Regions from separate parts of the Homo sapiens genome. Here region 1 is linked to region 2. Evidence: promoter capture Hi-C in 16 types of primary human blood cells and fetal thymus (Javierre and others, 2016). All regions are on one chromosome and are shown on one strand. The core of a region is centred on a gene start or on the middle of the fragment in contact, and the rest is flanking DNA. Distances in the headings are between cores, read along the strand shown.

The links. The method cuts DNA at HindIII sites, captures the fragments that hold promoters and counts their contacts. A CHiCAGO score of 5 or more calls a contact.
Region 1: a contact is called between the fragment with the promoter of SLC7A6 here and the fragment with the promoter of WWP2 in region 2, in 1 of 17 cell types (neutrophils). The highest score is 6.2, in neutrophils.

The regions. Positions count from the first base shown.
Region 1 is chr16:68,262,468-68,268,177 of GRCh38, reverse strand. SLC7A6 (solute carrier family 7 member 6) reads right to left here and starts at 3,652. Exons shown (of 11, transcript NM_003983.6): 1 at 3,602-3,652; 2 at 1,457-1,585. It overlaps LOC124903704 (a long non-coding RNA gene), which reads left to right and starts at 3,721. Exons shown (of 3, transcript XR_007065096.1): 1 at 3,721-3,810; 2 at 4,764-4,991; 3 at 5,482-5,517. RefSeq lists an enhancer at 1,915-3,114 and a silencer at 3,487-3,766. The HindIII fragment of the contact is 19,556 bases long and covers 436-5,710 here.
Region 2 is chr16:69,758,250-69,763,810 of GRCh38, reverse strand. It overlaps WWP2 (WW domain containing E3 ubiquitin protein ligase 2), which reads right to left and starts at 1,479. Exons shown (of 24, transcript NM_001270454.2): 1 at 1,420-1,479. RefSeq lists silencers at 1,003-1,052, 1,073-1,232, 1,253-1,392 and an enhancer at 1,096-1,674. The HindIII fragment of the contact is 2,162 bases long and covers 1-2,077 here.

The DNA of each region.
Region 1 (5,710 bases), core at 2,403-4,902, 1.5 Mb after region 2:
TGTTTCAAGTTGGGGCTCCCAAGACTCCTCTTTCAGTTCAATTAATTTGCTAGAGCGGCTCACAGAACTCAGAGAAACACTTACTTACCTTTACTTGTATATTATAAAGGCTATTACAAAGGATACAGATGAAGAGGTTTGCAGAGCCACATATGGGGGAAGGGTCACAGACTTTCCTTGTCCTCCCAGGGAGAAGTACCATCCAGGAACCTCCACATGTCCAGCTATCCGGAAGCTCCCCAAACCCCCAGCCTCTTGGGTTTTTATAGAGGCTTCATTACATAGGCATGAGTGATTAAGCCACTGGCCATTAGTGATCAACTTAACCTCACCCTCCTCCTTTCTCCCCTCCCCGGAGGTTGGGGGTAGGGCTCAAAGTCCCAACCCTCTAATCCTGACTTGGTCTTTCCAGTGACCAGCCCCCATCCTGAAGCTTTCTAGGGGCTGCCAGCCACCAGCCATCAGCATACAAAAAGACATTACTTTGATCTTTCTAAGTATTTTAGGAGTTGTATGCTAGGAAACGGGCTGAAGACCAAAAAATATTTTGCTATATCACAGAGAAATACATCAAAATCTTTTTATTCCCCCCTCTGGTTGAATCAAAATCTTAACTATGGTGAAAACACAGAGGACTTTTTCTTATAAAACTCTCTGAGTTATGGCCAGGCGCGGTGTCTCACACCTGTAATCCCAGCATTTTGGGAGGCTGAGGCGGGTGGATCGCCTGAGGTCAGGAGTTCGGGACCAGCCTGGCCAACATAGTGAAACCCTATCTCTGCTAAAAATACAAAAAATTGTCCGGGCATGGTGGTGGGCACCTGTAATCCCAGTTACTCGGGAGGTTGAGGCATGAGAATCACTTGAACCCGGGAGGTGGAGGTTACAGTGAGCCAAGATCGCACCATTGCACTCCGCCAGGGCAATGAGAGCGAAACTCCTTCTCAAAAAAAAAAAAAAAAAAAAAAAAATCCACCACAATTGGGAGGCTGAGACGGGCAGATTGCCTGAGCTCAGGAGTTCGTGACCAGCCTGGCCAACATGGTAAAGCCCCGTCTCTACTAAAAATACAATAATTAGCTGGGCATGGTGGCGGGCGCCTGTAATCCCAGCTACTTGGGAGGCTGAGGCAGGAGAATCGCTTGAATCCAGGAGGCAGAGGTTGCAGTGAGCAGAGATTGCGCCACCACACCCCAGCCTGGGTGACAGAGTGAGACACTGTCTCCAAAAAAAAAGAAAAAACCCACCACAATTACTCTTTATAAAGAATTGTAATATAAATAAATGTATAATTTATTTTTATAATAAATTACAGTGTTATTTAATATGTAATACTAAAGAGTTGTTAATTATGTGTAAGCCATTCTGTTTACTAGTATTGTATTCACACTGTATACAAGTAAAAACTCTTTGTAAATCACACAAACAAAAGAAAAGACAGCGCAACAATATTCACCTGTCAAGAAATACGCGAACATCACACTTTCATAAGCCACCTCCTCATAAATGGGTCCAGTACTGAGAAGGAAATGAAGTCCCCTGCAGCAAGGCCTAATTCCACTTGTCTGCCTCGGCCACATAAACTCTGCAACAAAGAGTGGGAGGGAACTGATCAAAAAATGAACTCTTTTAACCTGAGAAAGCTGATTTAAATATATATATATATGTAATTATTTTTAATTAACCAAGAAAGCAGCAGAATGATATTTCCTTGTAAAATCTAAATTTTACATGCCCGGCAGGGGCAGTCCTAATTACTAGCAGGTTCCATGACACCCACAGGGTGGGTATAACTGAAGTAGCCAGCCCAAACCTGTCAGAGAACTGGCCTTGTCACATTAAATCATGTAAGTCTAGGCAGCTCTGGGGCCCCAGGTCCCGTGGGCACCGTTTACATAACTTTTTTTCTTTTTTTTTGGAGATGGAGTCTCGCTCTGTTGCCCAGGCTAGAGTGCAATGGCGCAATCTTGGCTCACTGCAACCTCCGCCTCCCGGGTTCAAGCCATTCTCCTGCCTCAGCCTCCCGAGTAGGTGGGACTACAGGTGCCCACCACCACACCTGGCTCAATTTTTGTATTTTTAGTAGAGACGGGATTTCACCATGTTAGCCAGGATGGTCTCGATCTCCTGACCCCGTGATCCGCCTGCCTCGGCCTCCCAAAGTGCTGGGATTACAGGACTGAGCCACCGCGCCCGGCCTGCATAACTTTTTTAGAAACTAATATACATCCAAGAAATTACAGCAGGAAGCACAAAGGTCAGGAAATTTCTTCTACTAAGAAGTTCCAGGGAGATGGGGATCATAAAACCGGTATATGCAATAAAAATACATCCACGGCCAAATAGGGAAGGAGGACAAGGAGAGGAAGAGAGGAGAAAATCAGGCTGGTGGTTTTCCACACACTTGCCAGGAAAATAAACTCCAGTGTAACGACTTGAATAACGATCTGAGATCAAAGTTGGGAAGCAAAAGCCGTCTGCGCAGCACACATGGGACCTGAGTAATGCAGGCAGCCTGGGCAGGTCCCCAAAAGGCCTCACCGCCACCAAAAAGAGGTGGAACTGATATAAGGAAGTACTCACAGCCTTTCAAGTCTGCTCCTCCCAGATCTGAAATCTGGGAGCAGTTCTGAGAGACAAGCCCCGGATGGCTGGGCACTGAACAGCCGCCCTGCGAGATGAGCTGCCCTGGCTTTTTCCCCTATCAAGGGCAGAGACTGAATTCTTTTTAACTGTGTCACCAAGCCCAGGGCATACAAGAGGTACTCAAAAACGTGTTCGCCGACACCCTGATTCCTATTTATACTGACCATTACACAACATGTTTGCTTAGAGCCCAGCAAAGAATTTTCAGAATGTTTCACGTCTATCTCCCCACATTCAGGAGAGATAGTCACACAAGATGACAGGCTATAGGGACGCTCAAAAGAGCCATAATCACCAGGGGCACGCGGGTTCCCCAGCGCCAGCAGCCCAACGCTCCAGGCTCCAGCACGCCACAAAACCTTGCGGCATTCTCTAAAGTAAAAGGACTGATTTTAAAATGATAATCGTCATTCTTGCGACAGCCCCAGGAAGCCTGGCTCCTGAGGTCCTGAGCCCGCGTCTTTCTTTGCCCCACCGCGGCCGCCACACAGCACAGGTTCTCCGTCCTGCAGTCGGAGGCGCAGTCACAGCCCCACTCAGGGTCACCGTCGCACAGTCTCACGCTCGCGGCGCGGCCCGCGCACTCAGCGTCCCGGTCACCCTCGCACCTGGGGTTTCCCTCTCCACACACACCCCCGGTCTCCCTCACACTCGCCGCGTCGCCAGCACACCCCAAGACTGGCTCCCTCGCGGTCACCATCAGCCTCCGGGGCTCGCACCCATACAGCGTTTCTCCCACACTCGGCCCTCACGCTCGAGGTCCCTCTCTCCTCGTGGCGCCCCCCCTCACCCGCAGCGCCTCTCGCGCGGCCCCGATCGGCCAGCCCCGCGCTGTTTCTGGGCCGCATCCCGCTCCCGACGGCGGCAGCGAAGACCCACAGGGTTCGGCTCCCACAGAACGCGGCCCAGCCCCGGCCCCGCTCCCGGCGCGCCCGCCCATGGCCCAGCCCGTTACCTCCCAGTGGCCCGGCGCCGCCAGGATGCTCGGTCGCGCCGCCGCCGCCGCGGCAGCTCAGGCCCCGCCCCGCCACGTCACCCGCCGCCGGATCGCGACAGCGCGCGCCGCGTCGGGACACAGTTCCGTGCGGGGCCAGCTGGCGGCGGCGCTTCCGGGCCCCCGTGGCCGCCACGGCCTGGCCGGTACGGGGTCCGCCGGCCCAGAACGTGAGCGTGGACGCCAGACAGCCCCCAGCTGCCTCGTCAGGGCTCGAGCAGCCCGTGAACTGGGCCCGGCCACGCTCGCCGCCCTGGAGTTAGATGGGGCCTCCGAGGGCGTCCACAGCGGACATTCCCGCGGGGAGCTCTCATCGGCCCCCGCACCCCGTTCCTATCTCGCACTTGACCTGGGCCCGACGCCCAGGGCGCCCCCTACAGCTCACACAGGGATCCAAACGGCCTCCGCCGCCGGGCCACTGCCACTCGCAGTCTAGGAACCCCAGGAAGACACACACTCTGGGGACTTGTCCAAACACACGCACAGCTCAGACTCGTAGCCCTTGAGGCCCCCGCACCCACAAAGAAACTGCAGGCTCCCTTTGCCAACCCCAGGCCTCCCTGGGGCTCTGTCCTCATCTTCCCAAGAGGGCTGCCACCCCTCTTGGGGGAGCTGCACCTCCTGCCCCCCCTCTTGGGGGAGCTGCACCTCCTGCCCCCTTCCCCTCCCTCTGTTTGCTCCTCCATCTTTCTCTCGAGTTCCTTTTCCTCTGGTGGCTCTGGGGCTCTCTGTCTAGAGCCTCCTGACCTCATGGGCGCCTGAGCCCTCCTCCGAAATTTCCTGTCCACACCTCAAGCACTGACTTTCTCCAGGGCCCTGGAATCTTTTCCCCCAGCCTTATGACCACAAGTACACGTCCTCTGGTTCCAGACCATACCCAAGACCCTGCTCCCTGCCACCCAGTGACAGGGACCCAGCCAGAGATGGGTAGCACCTCAGACCCTTCCTCCCCACTCCTCCCACGGCCTATACCTCGTTTTCTTCTCCCCAGCCACAACGGCTTCTCAATCCCTATCCTGCTCCCCTTACCCCATCTCCACAGAGTAGGGGATGCTCCTAGAATACAGATTGCGATGACTTTGTATCTCCCCTGCCTAAAACCCTTCCATTCTCCTCTCTGCAGGCCTGGGATGACAATACTTGAGGAATCCTCGCTGGTGCTGCCCTCCTGCCCTCTGCTTGGAACCCCTCCCCTAAGTGTCAGTGAGTGGACGTATATATTTGGATCAATCGAGTTGCACCCTTTGCCTCCCAGATCAGTTCCTCCGGCCTCCCTGGCTGAGCAGAAGGACAGCTCTGGACACTTGTGTCAGCACCCAGCCCACGTGTCCCTGCCACAGCTTCATATAAGGTATGCCGGCTCAGCCGGGCCTGGTGGCTCACGCCTGTAATCCTACAACTTTGGGAGGCTGAGGCAGGCAGATCACCTTGAGGTCAGGAGTTCGAGACCAGCCTGACCAACATGGAGAAACCCCGTCTCTACTAAAAATACAAAATTAGCCGAGTGTGGTGGCACATGCCTGTAATCGCAGCTACTCAGGAGGCTGAGGCAGGAGAATCGCTTTAACCCAGGAGGCAGAGGTTGCAGTAAGCCGAGATCGCGCCATTGCACTCCAGCCTGGGCAATAAGAGCGAAAGTCTATCTCAAAAAAAAAAAAAAAAAAACACCATATGCCAGCTCCGTCTGGCTTTGCAGTCTCATACCCAGTTACGTAGCCCATCAGCTGAAAGCCCAATGTACACCACACCCTGAATCAGATGTTCTCCAACACCATCAGTGTTCCTCAGGACCACCCTGCAGGATACATTTATTTGTAACCATTCTTTTCTTTTGCTTTTAGAGATCTTGCTGTTGCCCAGGCTGGAGTGCAATGGCTATTCACAGGTGTGATCATAGCTCACTGCAGCCTCGAACTCCTGGTTTCAAGCGATCTTCCTGCCTCAGCTTCCTACTTGGGACTACAGATTTATTTCATCTTTTTTTTTTTTTTTGAGATGTATCTCGCTCTGTCTTGCTCAGGCTGGAGTGCAGTGGTGCCATCTTGGCTCACTGCAGCCTCCGCCTCCCAG
Region 2 (5,561 bases), core at 230-2,729:
TCACCAAATATTTATCAAGTGCTCACAACATGCCAGGCACTAGGCTAGCAGCCAAATAAAATATGAAACCTGCCCTTGAAGGATTTGCAATCTAGCAGGAAGAGGCCAGCAAACAAGAAAGAGCAATAAATTGTTTTAAAAAATCAAGTCGTCTCTCGTAAGTCTGTTTGTTCCCTGTGAAATGAGAATACATCTTCCCAACCTCACTCATAGGCGCTGCTGCAAAAACTAATTTTTAAATGTTTGTCAAATAACTCCAAAAACTTGAACTCATAATACATTAGGAAAGTACTTTTTCCTACTTGTAACCCAAAACGATGCTGGCTGCTGTGAATGTCCAGTTTGAACATTCGTTCCAGTTACACTGCACTCATGAAACTCCTTTTGCTTCTGCAAATTTTAGTAAACATGAGAAACAGGAAGATGAACAGGCTTTAACACAAGTATTCAATCTCAAAATCATGATCCAGGTCACAGTTCTAAGGAACATAACACAGACCTCTCAGGCACCCTACCTAGTTACAGTTCGTCAAGATAAGCAGTCACAAGATAAGCTAAGGGAAACTGAATAATTTAAACGGAAGAAAGAGAAAAGTCATAAAGCAGTCTAGGTAGACACTTCTCTGTCCAAGATTTCAGCAGTCACTATGTTGCTGAGGTAACGCTGGGCTAGGTCAACAGTGTAAGCTAAAAGCCATTTTACAGGCAAAGTGCCCACACTTATTTTTTTAATTTATTTTCTTTTTTTGTTTTTTAAAGCCTCGATGATGGCCCGTTCAGGGAAAATCTCAAAGAAAAATGAGCTGAAGGGCTAGGCTCCCAAGAAGTGGAAACCCTACCCACGCAGGACTAAGTGGGCGCGAGGGAAGCAAGACGATCAAGATTCTGTGATCCCTCCTGAAGTTTAAAAACTGAATGGGACCGTCATCAAAGTCTCGGGTAACAATCATTTCCAAACAGGAAGGAAGGGAGAGACTCTCAGAGGGGGTCCAGGCAGCATCTTTTTCCCTCTGGCTCCACGCCATAAACCCATTTTCAGGCACCCCCTTCCAGCTCAGTTCCAAGTCGCCCCTTCCCCTGGTCCCGATCCCTCCACAAAGATCGCTCCTCTCCATGCCTGGGAACCTAAGCTCCTCTCCCCTTCCGGGAGGACTCGCTCCAGCTGCACCCTTGGCGGCCGGGGCACCCATTTCGGAGCAACCCCCGCGCGGGCCGCGGCGCGCCCACCCCACTCGGGCGGGAGCCGGGACACCCCTCCTCGGAGGCCGGAACCGCCGCGCCAGGCCCCTCCCACAGGAAGCCGCCGCCCCCCGACGCCCGGGCCGCGCCGCCCCCGGCCCACCCCGCGCCGCCCGCCGCCCCCGGCCCGCCCCGTGCAGGCAGCCAGCCCACCGCGCCCCCCGCGCCAGCGCTCGCTACCTGCCGTGGCCACAGAAGCGGCGCCGAACTCCTCTCCTACTTCCGCCTTCCACCGCCCGCACTCGGGCCGGGTCACGTGACCGCGCGCGGTCACCTGACCCGGAAGAGGCTGGCCAGGCTCGCAGGTGCGGGCCACCTAGGCCTGGCCTGGGCACCTCTGGCCTCGAGGAGGCCTTTTTATCGTCTCTGTAGTTGAAAGTGGAAGGGTTTCTGCTCACCGGATGGTCCCAGGCAATCAAATAAATTGAGGGCTCACTGAATGCCACCTACTCTGCCCATCAACCTTATAGAGGCAGGGACAGGTACTAGCCCCATTTTACAGGTGAAACGAGACCTTCAGACTGTTAAGTCAGCAAATACTTAATTGAGCTCCTTTAGTAGGGTTGCCAGATAAAGTACAGGACACCCACTTAAATTTGAATTTCAGATAAACAACAGTGTAATATGTATGTCCCAAATACAGAATGGGACATATTTATACTAAAAAAAGTATTTTTTGATTATCTGAAGATCAAATTGAATTGAGTATCTGTATTTCTATTTCCTGGCAACCTTATGCCTATTATGTGCCAGGCACTGTTCTAAGATCCAGGACCACAAACATCTCAGCCTTTGTGGGGCATCTGTCCTTGTGACATGAAGCAAAAGTACAAAAGCTTAAAAACTCCTGCTTGGCTCCATAAAAAGCCCCTCCACACTAATCCAATCGCATTCCCTTAATCTACAACTACAGGGCACAGAGAACTTAATGAATTATAATCCAGGTAGGTAGGTAGGTAGGTAGGTGGATAGATAGATGATATTTTTTTTTTTTTTTTTGAGATGGAGCCTCGCTCTGTCGCCCAGGCTGGAGTGCAGTGGTGCAGTCTCAGCTGACTGCAACCTCCGTCTCGCCGGTTCATGCAATTCTCCTGCCTCAGCCTCCCGAGTAGCTGGGATTACAGGCGTGCACCACCACGCCTGGCTAATTTTTGCATTTTTAGTAGAGACAGGGTTCCTCCATGTTGACCAGTCTGGTCTCGAACACCTGACTTCAAATGATCCGCCCACCTTGGCCTCCCAAAGTGCTGGGATTACAGGCATGAACCACCGCACCTGGCAGAGAAATATTTTTTTTAAGAGATGGGTCTGGATAGGTTGCTTTGGCTGGGCTCGAACTCCCAGCTTCAAGCAGTCCTCTTGCTTCAGCCTCCCAAGTAGCTGAGACTACAGGCGAATGCCACTGTGCCTGCCCAATAACTTTATTTATTTATTTATTTATTTATTTATTTGCTTGCTTGAGACAGAGTTTCACTCTTGTAGCCCAGGCAGGAGTGCAGTGGCTCAATCTTGGCTCACTGCAACCTCTGCCTCCCAGGTTCAAGCAATTCTCCTTCCTCAGCCTCCTGAGTAGCTGGGACTACAGGCACCCACCACCATGCCTGGCTAATTTTTGTATTTTTAATAGAGATGGGGTTTCACCATGTTGGCCAGGCTGGTCTCAAACTCCTAACCTCAGATGATCCACCTGCCTTGGCCTCCCAAAGTGCTCAGATTATAGGCGTGAGCCAATGCGCCCGGCCTCCAAGAACATTTTAAATAGACATTCTTGACTGATGTTCTGGACAAGTTGAATGAAGGCTCAGTTTAATCACCATTGATTAAAATTAATACTAATGACGTAATTAGCCTCAAAGACTTGTACTAATCTGTTATTTTTGGGTCTTCGAATTGGGATGGATTCTATCATGCATACAAATTAAATTGGCTGGTGGGGCGTGGAGGCTCACGCCTGTAATCCCAGCACTTTGGGAGGCAGAGGCAGGTGGATTACCTGAGGTCGGGAGTTCGAAACCCACTTGGCCAACCTGGTGAAACCCCATCTCTACTAAAACTACAAAAAAAAAAAAAAAAAAGATTCGCCGGGCATGGTCCGGGTGCGGGTAATCCCAGGTACTCCAGAACCTGAGGCAGGAGAATTGCTTGAACCCGGGAGGCGGAGGTGGCAGTGAGCCATGATAACGCCTCTGCACTCCAGCCTGGGCGACAGAGTGAGACTCTGTATCTAAATAAATAAATAGGTTGAACACTTAGTCTCTACTTTTTGTAGTACCACTCCAAATCCAAGAGATTAACTTTCAAGGAGATACAGTCCTGTCTTTGTACATTAAACCCTATATTAGTCTCATTTATAAAACTACTATAACTAAAACTTCTCCAGTTCCATTGATGGCAGTTTTACTAATTCTGTTCTAGATAAATTAGAGACTATTTCCTTGACTTACTAGCATTTGTTGGTTTCGGTTTGTTTTCTTCTTTCATATTTCATTTTTTATCTTTTGTTGCTTTTTTTTAACAACCCTGCAGAAAAGATTTAGTGGCATCTGAGTAAGTGTTCACCAAAGGGGAGAAGGGACAAGCAAAGAGCACACACTGCACATTAAAAGAATAAAATCTGACAGGGTGCGGTGGCTGGCACCTGTAATCCCAGTACTTTGGGAGGCCAAGGCGGGCAGATCAGACTGTCAGGGGCTCGAGATCAGACTGGGCAACATGGTGAAAACCCATCTCTACAAAAAATACAAATATTAGCTGGGCATGGTGGCACACACCCGTAGTCCCAGCTAATCAGGAGCCTGAGGCTTGAGAATCGCTTGAACCTGGGAGGCGGAGGTTGCAGTGAGCCAAGATTGCACACTGGACTCCAGCCTGGATGACAGGGTGAGACTCTGTCTCAAAAAAAAAAAATTGATATGATAAACTAGAAAATGAGAAATAGCCTCCAGCCATACTCTGTTACGGCAGGTAGCACAGGCACGTTCTAGATAATGAAGAGACTGAGTGGTGAGAAAGGTTGAGCCAGGTGCAATGGCTCACGCCTGTAATTCTAGCACTTTGGGAGGCCAAGGCAGGTGGATCACCGTACATCAGGAGTTCGAGACCATCTGGCCAATATGGTGAAACCCCATCTGTACTAAAAATACAAAAATTAGCCAGGCGTGGTGGCGGGCACCCATAATCTCAGCTACACAGGAGGCTGAGGCAGGAGAATTGTTGAACCTGGGAGGCAGAGGTGGCAGTGAGCTGAGATCGCACCACTGTGCTCCAGCCTGGGCGACGAGAGCAAAACTCAGTCCCCTTCCCGCCACCCCAAAAAAAGAGAAAGACTGAATTTGGGTAATTGCTGAAAGGCAATATTCAGTAGCACTGAAGGATTTTTGGGGTAGGACAGATAAATGACAATTGAGGAATCCAGCTGGCGTGAAGACTTCATGAAGAAAGTTTGCATGAAGACCCAAGTCGACATTCAGCAAAATTCACCGGATCTTATAATCATAAAATTTCAGATTTGCAAGGAAACGTAGAAGTCACTAAATACACCTTCTGTTCAATTCAGCAAGGAATTATTTGCTACCAAATTATGTGTGTTGCTTAGGGAGGTGGGGTGAGACTATTAAGACAAATTAGACAGACTCTGGCCCCACGTTGCTCAAAATGAAGTGAAGGCACATAAGCAGCAGTCAGTATAACAGAATGGATAATTAGGTGGCTCAGGGACAGCACCGTGTCTCACACCTGTAATCCCAGCACTTTGGGAGGCCAAGGCTAAAGGACTGCTTGAACCTGGGAGTTTCAGACCAGCCTGGGCAACATGATGAGACTCTCATCTCTACAAAAGTAAAAATGAAAAAACTAGCTGGGCATGGTGGTGTGGGCCTGTGGTGCCAGCTACTCGAGAGGCTGAGGTAGGAGGCTCACTTGAGCCTGGGAGTTCAAGGTTGCAGTGAACTATGATCATGCCACTGCACACCAGCCTGGGCAACAGAGAGAGACCGTGTCTCAAAAAAAAAAAAAAGAAAGAAAGAAAGAAAGAGAGAGAGAGAAAAGGAAAGGAAAGAAAAAAGAAGAGAAGAGAGAAAAAAGTGGCTCTGAATCAGTTTGTCTGGGTGTTACGTTATTTTCACCACTTACTGACCATGTCAGCTACACCTAGTGGCTTTAGTTAGCTATCCCTTGTCTGTAAAACAGTACCTATCTTGGCCGGGCGCGGTGGCTCACGCCTGTAATCCCAGCACTTTGGGAGGCCGAGGCGGGTGGACCACGAGGTCAGGAGATCGAGACCATCCTGGCTAATACGGTGAAATCCTGTCTCTACTAAAAAT